Linked DNA regions of Homo sapiens: region 1 is linked to region 2. Evidence: promoter capture Hi-C in 16 types of primary human blood cells and fetal thymus (Javierre and others, 2016). All regions are on one chromosome and are shown on one strand. The core of a region is centred on a gene start or on the middle of the fragment in contact, and the rest is flanking DNA. Distances in the headings are between cores, read along the strand shown.

What was found. Contacts are between HindIII fragments. The CHiCAGO score rates a contact against its expected background, and 5 or more counts as called.
Region 1: a contact is called between a fragment that was not itself captured here and the fragment with the promoter of SEC61A1 in region 2, in 8 of 17 cell types (naive CD4 T cells, fetal thymus, non-activated CD4 T cells and 5 more). The highest score is 12.9, in naive CD4 T cells.

The regions. Positions count from the first base shown.
Region 1 is chr3:128,611,509-128,618,811 of GRCh38, forward strand. No RefSeq gene overlaps it. Among named protein-coding and RNA genes, the nearest start is that of RPN1, 36 kb to the right of the region's middle. RefSeq lists enhancers at 6,312-6,601, 6,395-6,906, 6,622-6,671. The HindIII fragment of the contact is 2,303 bases long and covers 4,096-6,398 here.
Region 2 is chr3:128,046,839-128,053,755 of GRCh38, forward strand. It overlaps SEC61A1 (SEC61 translocon subunit alpha 1), which reads left to right and starts at 5,599. Exons shown (of 12, transcript NM_013336.4): 1 at 5,599-5,721; 2 at 5,997-6,064. The coding sequence starts at 5,715. It overlaps LOC102723759 (a long non-coding RNA gene), which reads right to left and starts at 5,337. Exons shown (of 4, transcript XR_007096073.1): 1 at 5,124-5,337. RefSeq lists a cis regulatory region at 5,164-5,780 and a silencer at 5,273-5,912. The HindIII fragment of the contact is 3,738 bases long and covers 3,127-6,864 here.

The DNA.
Region 1 (7,303 bases), core at 3,997-6,496, 560 kb after region 2:
CTTCTGCCCTCTTCTGACAGCCCCAGGCTGCCTCCCACCACACACAACACACACACACATGCATGCACACACACATGCACTTGCACAGCCACATGACATGTGCAAGGACACACACATATACATATACACAGACACACACATGCATACACAGAGACACACAGACACACACACACATGGGTCACAGCCCAAAATAACACCTTCCTGGAGCTAACGCCTCTCCTTCCCCCTCACCCCGAGTGTGTATGGATTCCTCCAGCCCAAGCCTCCCTCCCCAAATCACCCCTCTCTAGCCCTGTCAGATTCAGAAGGATCTCCTCCTCAGGTCAGCCTCCATCTCTGACAAATCCCCCCACCCCATCCTCTGGTCCTGCTCCCCCAGGGCTCCCAGCACCTGGCCCAGTGGACCAGCTGCAGGCCACACCTCTCTACTGGTGGAGAGGGAAACCCTGGGCTCTCGGGTAGAGCTGCGGGTGCTGGTGGTGGGTGGCCATGCCTTCGTCCATGTCCATCCAACATGCACTCCCTGTGTGCCTGGACCCCACTCCCTCTCCTCCAGGCCTTTGTGCCATGCACAAGCTCCAGGCCTGGGGCCCCATCCTGATGGAGAGAAGTGGTCAGGAAAGTGGGCAGGCCTCAGGGCTTCAAGCCAGGCCCCAAGAGGCAGAGGGGAGAGTGACAGGACCTGGAGCTGAGACTTAGGAACGTGACAGGTGGCCAGTGTGGTGGCTCATGCCTGTAATTCCAGCACTTTGAGAGGCTGAGGTGGGTGGATCGCTTAAGCCCAGGAGTTCAAGACCAGCCTGGACGATATAGCAAGACCCCATTTCTACTATTTAAAAAATATGTATATAATTTTTTTTCTTTTTTTTTCCAGAGTCTCGCTCTGTCGCCCAGGCTGGAGTGCAGTGGTGCAATCTCAGCTCGCTGCAACCTCCACCTCCTGCGTTCAATCGATTCTCCTGCCTCAGCCTCCCAAGTAGCTGGGACTATAGGCGCATGCCACCACGCCCACTAATTTTTGTATTTTTAGTAGAGACAGGGTTTCACCATGTTAGCCAGGATGGTTTCGATCTCCTGACCTCGTGATCCGCCCGCCTGGTCCTCTCAAAGTGCTGGGATTACAGGCGTGAGCCACCACACCTAGCCTATATTTAAATTTTTTTAAAGAAAACAGACAGGTGCTCTCCAGAGCAGCAGCGCGTGGTAGCACAGAGCGGCAGGGTGCACTCACCGTGTGAGCACACCACGCAGAGTGTTTCTGCACGCACGTGTGCCCCAGAGCAGCCTGTGTGCCTCTGCATGCCTCTGGGAGTCTGTGCACTTGTGCATGAAGGGGAGAGTCTGTGAGAAAGGATGGGTAGTGCAGAAGGCGAGAACACAGGCTCTGAGACCGGCACGCCAGGCTCACATGCTGTGCAAGTTCCCTCACTGGTGACAGTGGCAGCCAGAGCCGCACCTGGCAGAGCGTGAACGGGCTCCTTATCATTTCCACTCTGCAGGCATCTCTGTGGGCTGCACAAGGTCCCTGTGGCGGGGACTCTGCCCACTCCCGACTGTATCCCCAGGGCCAGGGACATGGCGAGTGCACGTATCTGGCATGTGTGAATCTGCCTAGCGCCGTGTGTGCACCTGCGTGTGTTCACTCGTGTGTGCATGTCTGTGAGCCTCGGTGACAGTCACAGGTGTGAGAGTGGCATGCGCACATCTGAGCATTGGAAGAGCTGCATGTGTGTGCCCATGTGCCTTCTGCGCACCCCCCAGGAGGGTAAACATGAGACGGAGACAGACAGAAGGCCCCACCCTGCTAGCACAGGTCACAGGGGTCAGGAAGGATCCACATTGCATCACAGCACCCCCAGCGTTCACTGACAAGGCAACCATGAGACCCGCCGTAGGGACCTCATACCTGCCTCATCCCAGCACTGTGGAGGAACAGGAATTTGGAAAAATAAAATAAAAACAAAAATCTGTGCTTCCTCCCTCCCTCCACTGAGGCTGCTTCTGGGACTCTGCCTGCACTAACTGGCCCCAGAATCCCAGCTCATCAATGCTAGAAGGCCCTTGGACATCTGTCATTGTGCAGTAAGACTTGAGGCCCAGAGAGGTCAGGGACTTGCCCAAGTTCACACAGGTGCCGGCTGCAGAGAGGGACCTGTCCCAGGTCTGTCTGTCTCAGCGAGGGCTGGCTTCTCCCTCCACACCTAGGGCTCCAACCCAATAGGTGGTTCAGACTGCTGAGACCTCGATCTGCAGTCTGAACCAATGAATAAATGGACATTTATAAAGAAAGCACTTTGTAAACAGCTACTCTTAGTTCAAATCAAAGCATTATACTTGTCACCCTGGTATCTGTCAAAGGAAGAGACTCCTGCTCCTTGAGCCGGTGCTGCGCCAGGGGCTTTCCCAGGCAGCATACCTCTGAGCTCCTTCCAGTCCTGATATCGTTATGGTCCTCATTCTCCAGGTGAGCAATGTGAGGCTCAGAGAAGAGAAACAGAAAGCCCGGAGGCTTGAGTGGGTCAGACACCCATCAGGAGCTTGGCATGAGTATGACAGCTCCTTGACGCAAAGTCTAGGGGGCATGAGTGCTGGGGCCATTGCAGGCACCAGGACCCAAGCCTAGGGGAGAGGAAGCTGGAAGCTGAGAAGCTGGAGCGCTCTAGAGGGCAGGTATGCATGAGACCTGACTTGCAGGCAGGAGGTCCTGCAGCCACCAGAGGCCTGGATGGGGTGAGGAAGAGGCCAAGAGAAAAGAGGCTGAAGGATTTATGGCCACCCAGCCCACACCCTGCTACACCACCCTGCCCAGCTCTCAGCTGTCCTGGGTCTCAGCTCAGGAGTCTCCTCTAAGGGATGCCCTCCTGACCCTCCAGACTACATCCATTTATCATATCACCCATTTTATTTCCTTCATAGCATTTATCACTATCATATTGCTGGTGCCCAAAACAGTGCCCACTACAAAGTGGATTTTTCTTTGGTGTGTGTTTGTATAGTTTGTTTGTTTGTTTTTAGCCATTCAGATTGCATTTATTTGTAACAATACGCATGCAGCCCTCCCTCTGGTCTTCCAGTCCCTGTCCCTCCCAGGGCAGCGCCCTTTCCTGAACACTCCTGTCTACCCTCGGAGTTGCTGACTTTTAGAAATCATAATGAGGCCGGATGCAGTGGCTCATGCCTGTAATCCCAGCACTTTGGGAGGCCGAGGTGGGTGGATCACCTGAGGTCAGGAGTTCAAGACCAGGCTGGCCAACATGGTGAAACCCCGTCTCTACTAAAAATACAAAAATTAGTCAGGCATGATGGTGGGTGCCTGTAATCCCAGCTACTTGGGAGGCTGAGGTGGGAGAATCCCTTGAACCTGGGAGACGGTGGTTGCAGTGAGCCCAGATCACGCCACTGCACCCGGGCAAGATCAGCCTGGGTGGCTGAGCAAGACTCTGTCTCAAAAAGAAAAAAAGAAAGAAAAAAAAAGAAATAACAATGAGCACCCATTTTTCTGTTACTAGCTTTCCTACTCACCTTTGAAAAAGGCAAAAACCTCAACAATGCATAAACCACACATAAGAAGGCAAATTCACAAGGAAAAATGACCAACCTCATCCATTATTTAAAAATGGCAAATAGGCCAGGCATGGTGCTTCATGCCTATAATCTCAGCACTTCAGGAGGCCAAGGCAGGTGGATCACTTGAGCCCAGGAGTTTGAGACCAGCCTGAGCAACACAGCAAAACCCCGTCTCTACAAAAAATACAAAAATTGTTTTTGTTTTCAAGACAGGGTTTCTCTCTGTCACCCAGGCTGGAGTGCAGTGGTGTGATCATAGCTCACTGCAGCCTCAACCTCCTGGGTTCAAATGATCCTCCCAACTCAGCCTCCCAAAGTGTTGGGAGGACATTTATAAAGTCCACTGCACTCAGTTGAAGATATTTGTTGAATGAATGGATGTGCTGCCTCTGTTTAAACTCTGCTGAAATAGAGCACCCAGTGTAGGGAGGCAAACAGTCCATTCCACTTCAGAAAGCAGTGTCCAGTAGTGTAAGGTAGGGACATCTCAGCCCACCTGGAGAATAGGGAAGGCTGCCCAGGAGGCGAAGCTTGAACAGGTCTTTGCTGATCTCCTCAGTGCTAATGAAGGCACAGTCTCTCAGGGCTCTCCCATGAGATCACTGCCTTAAGCCCTCAATCCCACCCAATCCTGCTCTACTGGGATCTATTCACTGGCCCCTTCTCTCCTGGATCTTCAGCCTTTATGTCCCTGTTACCTCCTTCCTTCCCATCAGCATTTGAACAGGCTCCTGTCCTTCCCACTGCTACAGACTGAATGTCTGCATCCCCCCAGAATTCTTATGTTGAAACCTAACCCCCAATGTGAAGCATTAGAGGGTGGCACCTTTGTGAGGTGATTAGGCCATGAGGGTAGAGCCTTCATGAATGGACATTAGTGCCCTTATAAGATACATCCGAGAGTTCCCTCATCTCTGCCACCATGTGAGGACACGAGAAGGTGCTATCTTTGAACCAAGCAGCAGGACCTCTCAACACCAAATCTGCCGGTGCCTTGATCTTGGACTTCCCAGCCTCCAGAACTGTAAGAAGCAAATTTCTATTTATAGCTACCCAGTCTATGGTATTTTGTTATAGCAGCCTTAACAGACTGAGACACTCGTCTTAAATCTTTCTGGATTCTATCCCCTGAGTGGAAGTCAAAAAAGGAGTCTGGGCTCCTCCCTCCCCACCAACCCCCACAAGCAAATCCTTCAGATGCTGCGATGGACCCTCCTGATGGCCCTACCTTCTGACTTGCCTTTCCTGATGCCCAGCACTTCTGCTGTCTGCTCCCTTCTGTGTCCCCTGCATTTAGTCCTGGGCCTGTCACACCACATATGGAACTAAGGGCCTGATGGAAGCTGAGACCCTAAAGGGCTGGGCTGGGGGCACCATGAAGGGGTTGGCCATGGTAGGGGACAGGCTGCATCATTCAGCTTTCGCTTCAGGTCTAGCCCAGTTTGAAGGTTCTCTCTTCCCTCCCTGTCATCTCCCACACCTGCCCAGGCAGGTGACAAAGCAGTCCCCAGATCCCAGGCCACCAGCCCCAGAACCAGGCCAGAGTCCCAGAGTCAGGCCCAGCTTCAAAATGGCGCCAGGCCTCATCCAAAGCATCAGGCCTTTGCAGAGGGCCCTGGGGTACACTCGGGGGCATTTCCTGTCTGAGCCTGCGGCCCCCAACCGCTGGCAGCATGGGCTTCCGGCGGGGCTGCGGCCGGGGCCTGCACTATCAGCTCGGCACCAGACGCCCGGTCAGGATACTTGTGGTGAAACTGTGAGGGCGCACTGGGTCCTTTGGGGTTTTCTCCCATGACAGCCTCCAAGACAAATGGAAGAGAGAAAGTGACACCCAGCCCTTCTTCAGCCGTGTTTTCCCCTCCCTGAGCCAGGGTCCAGGTTCAAGGCTGGGGGACTGCCATGAGGCCACCTATGACTACAGGGACATCCCAAAGCTGCAGCCATGGAAGCAGCCAGGGCCAGGCCACTAGGGTCAGGCATCTTGGCCAAGGCTGGACAAAAGGCACTGTGGCCTGGGGATCTGAATGGGAGTGGGAGTGGGTGGGCCACTCCTATACGGCCACATGAGGGCCACAGAGAAAGTACGCTGGGTCTGAGACTGAGAGGTGTCAGGTGTCTGGGGCATGTCACCTTGCGCCAAGGGATGCCCAGCCTGAACCTGGCTTTACACCTAGGGCCCCACTTCACCTCCTCCCTGAGATTTACAAGGGGGAAACTGAGGCCCTGTTTACTACTGGGGAAACCGAGGATCAGGGAAGCGCAGGGCTGCGCGTGGCGTAGGGCGCTCTGTCCCAGCAACCAAAGGATGTAAGCCCGTAGGTGGGGAGGGCAGCACCGGATGCCCCACTGGGCCCAGGGATGCACCCACCACAGGATGCTGGGGGAGCCACCGGCCTTGGCCAGCCCAGCTAGCCCTGTGGCTTTCCAGGGCAGCTGAGAGCCCAGGTCCCCATGGCTAAGCCCCTCAGCAGCCCAGTGGTCCTGAGCCCGCCGACCCCAGACCCAGTCCTAGTCCGGCCAGAGGAGGCCGTTTACGAGCCCACACCCGTAGGTGGCGCCACAGCCGGAGAATTGGCTTTGGTTCTGTTGGAGCCGCGCCGCCTTTAAATTAGCCCCACGCATGCGCGACTTTTCTAGCCCGAGCCCGCCGTCTGCGCCTGCGATTTCGCCCATACTCCCCGGTGCCCGCCTCGTGACGTGCCGCAGTGTTACGAAGGGACACCAGGGCGCAGGCGCAGCTCGCTCCTCAGGCCTGCGAGAGGCCCGCCGGCCCAGCAGAGGGCGCCCACCAATCTGCACGCGGGCCCAGCGAGTTATCTTGATTTCGGCCAAGCTTTCTGACTGCTCCAAAAAACGAAGAAAAAGATTCAGGGAGAGTAAGAGGATGAAGAGAGCTGGTGAAGCAGCTGACCAAATGGCCCGAGGTGGTATGCAGCCGCGGTAAAGCAGGGCCCCTCCGTGAGGCACAGCCGCCCGGGGGTTCCCTAGGGGAAGCAGGGGCTGCGGCAGACGCCTCTCGGGCAGGTCAGGGTATGCACCCTCCCGCAGGGGCTCCCAAGGCCGGGCGTGCGTGAGGCCAGGTCCACGGGCACACCACTGTGAACACTGATTAAACGTGGCCTCCACGGCTTCCAACCCCCAGGACAGGACCAACCCTCTGCCCCCGGCTCAGGCCAGAGCTCGGCGAGACCGTCGCTGTTTAACAAGCATTTGCTATACGCCACCTTGCATTATGACAGCATGTGACCCACACAGCCATCCTAGGAAGCAGGTAACAGCCCTACTCCATTTTGCACGGAAAGACTTGCCTGAGGTCACAGAGAGCGGCAGGCCTGGGATTTCCATCCAGGGATCCGACTGCAGAGCACGACTCTGGAGGGTCTTCCTTCTTGCTCCTCCCATCCTTCCACTGTCCTTGGATCCCCCATTTTCCCCCTGCACAATCTCCTAATCCCTATGTTCAACTTCTCATTTTCAACTGGATCTTTCCCAATGGCATTCAACACACTTGGTGTCCCCAACCTTAGAGTAGAACATTCAAGCAGCACAGCCTCCTGAAGGCCCTCACTCATCCCTTTCCCAGCCTGTTTGCGAAATGCTTTGTCAGGACTCAAAGTTAAGTCTCACTTCCGTCCAATTCCCATCCCCACACCAACACAGTTCTCAAGTCACCAATGGGTAAAAGGCTTCAGTGATCCACTCCTACAGCCAAAAGGCACTGCTCGGTCTCTTCAGC
Region 2 (6,917 bases), core at 4,349-6,848:
AACACACCAACTGGCCAAAAGAATAACCAGCTCCCCCAACCCGCTGTCTTCCCCAACCTAATTATTATATCGGATTGTCTTGTTACCTGGCTGTTCCTCCTCCTTCCCACCCTTAAATATGGTTGACCCCCTCTCCCACTGGGTCTCTCCTTGAATCTGGTCTCTCTATGCTTTCTCCCTTAGAAATCTCATCCACTCTCATGGAAAACGACTTAACATGCTTCTAATCCTAACTCATTTCTGAGCACCAGGTCTGCTTATTGGACTTCTCATTGATCAATTTCCAGTACCTCAAACTCTGCATGTTTAAAATAAAATTCACTTTCCTCTCTCTCACACACACACACAAACACACACACACACACTCACCATGGGGGTAAGTAGGCAACCTGTTCTCGATTTCCTTATTTAGGTAAATGAAATAAATGACACCCCCATCCTGCCAAGAACCCAGGCTTAAAACTACAGCAGAGGCCACAAATTCAAATGCTTAGAGACCAGGCAAGAGGCAAGGGACAAGTGGTAACTGTGGGGAGCCAAAGAGCTGCTGACCAATCTTAAAAAAGCAGCCACAACTTACTGATTTCTGGCATGTAGGAATATTAGCCTAGTGCTGTCGGGTCTTCTGATCTTCCAAGAGAAGTAAAAAATCTAGATTTTATGTTTTATGTGATCTCTCTAGATTTTACAAACAAAACAAGAAGTCATCTTGAACTGGTCAATATGTAAATCAAAAATTTAAAAACATATCTCCTATTTCTAAATAAATATCATAAAATGACAATGTAACTTGCAGCAAAAATAATTTGACAGATCTTTCTAGTATGTCTAAATCATTTCTTGGTTTTTGGAAGTTATGAATCTTTTGATACAGTTGTCACTAGATTTTGCCCCTGTATGGAGTGATGATTTGACATAGGAAGCAACATCAAATTGTTCCAACAACTTCCTCATTAAATGGATAATCATTAAATGAATTAAGCAGAGAATTTCCTTAACATCAATGATACTGTTTTTAGTGTTGAATCCTCAGTTTCTTATTAATAGCAATTAAATTTAAACATTTTATAGACTATAATAAAGTCTAAGAACATACAGAACTGATTCAATATCTGTTATTGACTAAGTCACACAAATCACTTATTGAAATATCTTTTAACTTACTGGCTTATTCACTATGTTCTGTTCACTCTCAATTCACGGAGCTTCACAAACCAGGGGGCTTTATTTCAAGATTCAAAAAATTGAAAGGGCTTAAAAGTTTATTACATTTTTCACTTTTGTCACCAAATACATTGATTTATTAGAAAAGCCAATAATTTTTCTCTTGGAATTGATACTTCACTTTTTTTTTCAAACAGGATACCTATTTTTTCTTATCCATAATAACTTCCACTTGTTTCAAACTTCCCTTTGTTTACATATGTCCAACTGCTTTACAGTTTATTGAAATAATGTCAGCTCTAATAGCTAAAATATGTTTTCTTATAAAGCTAAAATAAATACTGCTGGGCACGGTGGCTCACGCCTATAATCCCAGCACTTTGGGAGGCAGAAGTGGGCAGATCACTTGAGGTCAGAAGTTTGAGACCAGCCTGGCCAACATGGCAAAACTCCATCTCTACTAAAAATACAAAAATTAGCCAGGTGTGGTGGCGCACGCCTGTAATTCCAGCTACTTGGAAGGCTGAGGCAGGAGAATCACTTAAACTCAGGAGATGGAGGTTGCAGTGAGCTGAGATCGCGCCACTGCACTCCAGCCTGGGCAACAGAGCGAGACTTCATCTCAAAACAAAACAAAAAAACTCTAAATACTGACATCTCCATTAAAATATCATTTATTAAGGCCCAAACTCTTTAAAATATATTTTTCAAACAGCCACTGCATTTGTTTCCATTACAGTGAACATACAGAACTTACTGACTTCCACCACAGCGGGTATATAGCTCAGGGGTAGAGCATTTGAATGCAGAACTTACCGACTTCCACATTGCTTTTGCAGATCTAGCACTGCAGGCTTGTCCATCAAGGTTCAATTTGCATTACTTAATGTAGTTATTTCTGCTACTTGGTGTGTGGTAGTAAATATAGTTTATCAAGAAAAGCATGAGTTCCCTGACTTGTATTGGTTTATCCAAAATTAAATTTGATAATTTAGTGCCAAATTAAAACATCCACATTTTTCCTAAACTTTTGGCTGAAACTCCATACTCTCTCTAGAATTACATTAGCATTTTTTGTATAAAATCCAATGACAATTTTCTTATTTGGTACAATATTCCAATTACATCTTTATGGAACTATATCTCAAATGTAATTCTTTCTTGTGTACTCATAATAAAGACAATACAGTGTACTAAATGTTTCCCAGTGTCATAAGATCAACAAAAACCATTATATTCAAAAACCTTTAAATTTGCATTTTAATTATTAAAACACATTCACATAAAAAAATGAAGCTTCTTAGATGATGATTTTAAATACACCTCTTTGATTTACATATTTTTCAAAAAGCTGTTTTCTCATTTGGGTACATCTGGTTTTTAACAGGTGGGTCCAGAATACAATGGCGTGTTCATATCAATATTAATCCTTTTGAAGTTCTAGTAAATGTGTGTGAAATGCTCAATTATACTTAACTATATAATAGTGCTAAAAATTCTGACAGTACCTTCTAAATCTTTTTTTTTTTTTTTTTTTTTTTTTGAGACAGAGTCTCGCTCTGTTGCCCAGGCTGGAGTGCAGTGATGAGATCTCGGTTTACTGCAACCTCCACCCCCCAGGGTTCTAGCCATTCTCATGTCTCAGCCTCCTGAGTAGTTGGGACTACAGGCACGCACCACCATGCTCAGCTAATTTTTTATTTTTAGTAGAGGCGAGATTTCACCATGTTGGCCAGGCTGGTCTCGAACTCCTGGCCTCAAGTGATCTGCCCACCTTGGCTTCCCAAAGTGCTGGGATTTCATGAGCCACCAAGCTTGGCCCTAAATCTTTTTGATTGCTTTATCCTCACTCTGATAACCTTTTTGGGAGTTCTAAGTTTTCAAATACTTAATTTATGAAACTGATTATATTCTTTTAAGTTCTTTTCTCATCGATAATCACAATTTTTCTTCACTTGCACAAGCTTTAAGAGCATTCTGATGAATATATGTTTAACACTTTGATCTTTTAACAATAGAACTTCTGAGCACTCAGTACCCAACATTTCTGTCACTAGCAATGTCAAATTTTTGGTTGAAAAAAATTATTTTTTCACTACAAAACTATAGATTTTATGTAATAAAGTTTATCTTATAAATTATAAATTTTATTTTGTGCTGATTCTTAAACAGTATCAAAAGAAGTTCCAGGCGGGGATTCATTATTATTACAAATTTCTTGTTTATTCTTCTGCAGATATCAAGATTTACATTTATCATACTTAAAAGTATTGAAAATTCATCCAGATTTTTGTGGTCTCTTTCATTCTAGGTGGATGTTTCTAATATCCTATAATAAAATCTTAAATGTATAAATATAAAACACTGCATACCTATTTTCCGAAGAATTAATGTATGTGCTTACAATAGAAATATTTTATTATTTTTTGAGACAGAGTCTCACTCTGTCGTCACCCAGGCTGAAGTGCAGTGGTGAGATCTCAGCTCACTGCAGCCTCGACCTCCCAGGCTCAAGGGATCCTCCCACCTCAGCCTTTCCAGTAGCTGGGACTACAGGCATGCGCCACCATGCCTAGCTAATTTTTTTCTGTATTTTTTTCTAGAGACAGGGTTTTGCCATGTTGCCCAGGCTGGTCTTGCACTCCTGGGCTCAAGTGATCCTCTTGCCTTGGCCTCCCGAAGTGCTGGGATTACTGGTGTGAGCCACTGCACCCAGTCCAATAAAAATATTTTAAACTAGTGATTCTCCTAAAGCAATCAGTGATTTAACACACGTAACTTGGCTGCAGTCCCTGCAGTGACACAGGCCAGATTGTGTCATAATGTGGAAACAACAGGAGGCCTGTTATCAATGGTACTGACATCCTACAACTATTAGCACAAACCAATGAGTTTATATTAAAATTTCTATTAACTAATTGTAATATTTATTGTAATTACTATACTATTTACCCTCGAAATATTTCAACATTTTAACCATCAATATGGTGCAGGGTGCATAATGGCTAAATATCGGATCTAGTCTATATGCTGAACTTAGTCCAGGGGCTGCCAGTTTTAGCTTCAGGCCAAAACTCCAGAAGAGATCATCAGTGGGTCCTGGAAGTGAAGATGGGTTGCATTTCAGACTCTGAATAAAGAGTCAATGTCTTCTTTTTCCCCTTTTTGGTGGGGGATGGATATCAAGTGATGTCACACCTAGACCACTTCACTGAAGTTACCTGCCTGTTCCCAGTAGTCCTTTGAATTTTCCACCAGTGGGTTTGTATTCCAAAAAAGACTTCCTGTCCTGTCCAACTTTCTGAGCCAAGAATGTACAAAACCTGATTATCTGCTAGAAATGGGTGAGAATGGAAAAATCCAAATAGTTGACACCTAAATTAAAAGCAAAAAAGCATCTTGCCACATATGTACCCTCAACTTCTACCTGTCCTGGTCAAGGTTTAGCTCCATGAAACCTTGCCTGATCCCACAAGGCGTGCCCACCTCCTCCCTGCTAAATGCTCACAGCATTAAGTCTGTTTCTCTTAGATGACATCATACCTACTGACTACAGATGCCTGAAAGTAAATTCCAACCCCCAGCCCCAGCATCCCTTGCCCTACCCGTTATCCCCCTTTCCCACACCGATCTTAGGCAATCACACCGCCATGCTTTGCCCACAACAGTCTCCTCAACCTGTTCCCTCATTCCTTCTCGCCAGAATCTATCAAGGCTCGGCACAAAGGTACTCTCCCAGGAGGCCTTCCTGAATTCTTCTGTGAGGCAGACTACTTCCCGAGCTGCCCCGGCCCTTCTCCGGCCAAGTCTCTCCAGAAACTCATCCCATTCGTTCTCAGATGGAAGGGGACCCACACCCACGACAAGCCTCCGGGTTTGCTTAATGACTCAGACAGCGAGGGTGCTCGGTAAGCCCCACCAGCCCGCGCCCTACTCAGCAGGTAATGACGGAGACCTACTAGGTGACGGGCGCCGCGGTAGACGCTGGGATAAGGTCCCTGCTCCAGGGAGCTTACGGTCTATTCACTAACGTCAAAGAGCAGTGAGTGCTGTTACGTGTATGGGAGCCACCAGGGTCTCCGCCTGCCTGCAGGGCCACGCGCGCACTCGACGCTTCGCGCCTGCCTCAGTTTCTCCGTGAGGCCGCACAGCCCCAGTCTCGGGAGGCGTGACACACCCTCCCCGCGCGCTCTCGCGTTACCAAGTCTGCGCAGCCGCACACCCCCAGTCCCGGCGGGCCCCGCGCGCCAGGCCCCTTCCCGACAGGCCCCAGGAGCCCCGCTGCATGCCGGGGCTTGAGGTCTCGGCGAAGCGGCGCGGCGCGGCGAAGCGCGGCGGCCGGCGGGCGCGCGTGGCAGGAAGCGGAAGCGATCCGAGGCCCGGCCCCGGCCCCGCCCCGCGCCGCGCCGCGCCGCTTGCCGCCGGGCTAGCACTGACGTGTCTCTCGGCGGAGCTGCTGTGCAGTGGAACGCGCTGGGCCGCGGGCAGCGTCGCCTCACGCGGAGCAGAGCTGAGCTGAAGCGGGACCCGGAGCCCGAGCAGCCGCCGCCATGGCAAGTGAGTCCTGTAGGGAAGCCCTATTGAGGCCGGGACGGAACAGATCCCCCTTCCCCACACCCGTGCGGTCGGGCGCCCGCCGGCCAACCCTGACCGGCCCCCTGCAGAACGCGGCCCGTGCCCCCGGCCCTTCTCGAGTATCCCCACGCGTCCGGGGTGCGGCCGGCTCCCCTGGCCCCTGCTCTCACTCGTCGTGGGCAGAAGGCGTCCCTGGGTAGCGCGGAAGGTTACTTCTCTGTGTCCCAACTCTTCCTGTTTTGTTTCTCCCATCAAAGTCAAATTTCTGGAAGTCATCAAGCCCTTCTGTGTCATCCTGCCGGAAATTCAGAAGCCAGAGAGGAAGGTAAGTACCCCAAATCGCCAACAAAGAAGGTTTCAGGAAACTGTCTGGACTCTGGAAGTTTACAGTATGATTAAAAATGGCTTCAGCACGGCAATGGAAACTCTCCCTTCTCTTCCCTTGGAGTGTAGTTGTGCTCTGTTATTCCGGAGAGCTGTCGAAAGGTGACCTGGTTGTGTGGAAATTTCCACTGAAATCACTGTGCTTTATTTGGAGCATCTTTGGTGGATGTTGCTCCGAGAACAAAGCCTCCGGTTGCCCTGTCCCAAAAATGGATCCGGGCCATGAATGAATAAGGCCTCAGTTAGGATAGCAGATTGAGTTACCCTCCCTTTTTCACCTCCAACGGGAGCAGATCACGGGTTGGTTTTTTTTCCCAGGAGATGCCCTTTGTATCCAGCTGCTAAAGGGAAGGGCTGTCACTTTAGTATTTACAAATGATTTTGTACCTTTTATGTAGGCTGTCACAATAGGGGGAATAAAGGCTATTCTTTTGTGAAGTCTGCTGCTTTTCACAGACGGTGTATTAAAACAAGGAAAGATTAAATTTAGAGCTGTGCTGAATCAGAAATTGTGTGGAGTGAGTGTTGCCAGTGTAACTACAGCTGTCAACGAAAAAAAGTTTCATTAGGTTCCTAGGTTAGAGAGTGGGGAATAAAATGTTTGTGTCCTCACATTATTTTTCAAACTGTTGTTAAAGCATTCACATGGACACTTGGGTGCTTGGAATCCACTTTCATTTTTTTACGTAAAATAGTTTCATATAAATGCCCATGTGCTGCTTTTAATGGACGAATTTGTAAAGCTTTACCCCCTCAATTCCAGTGTAGCGAAGGGGCATGGCTCTGGAGGCAGG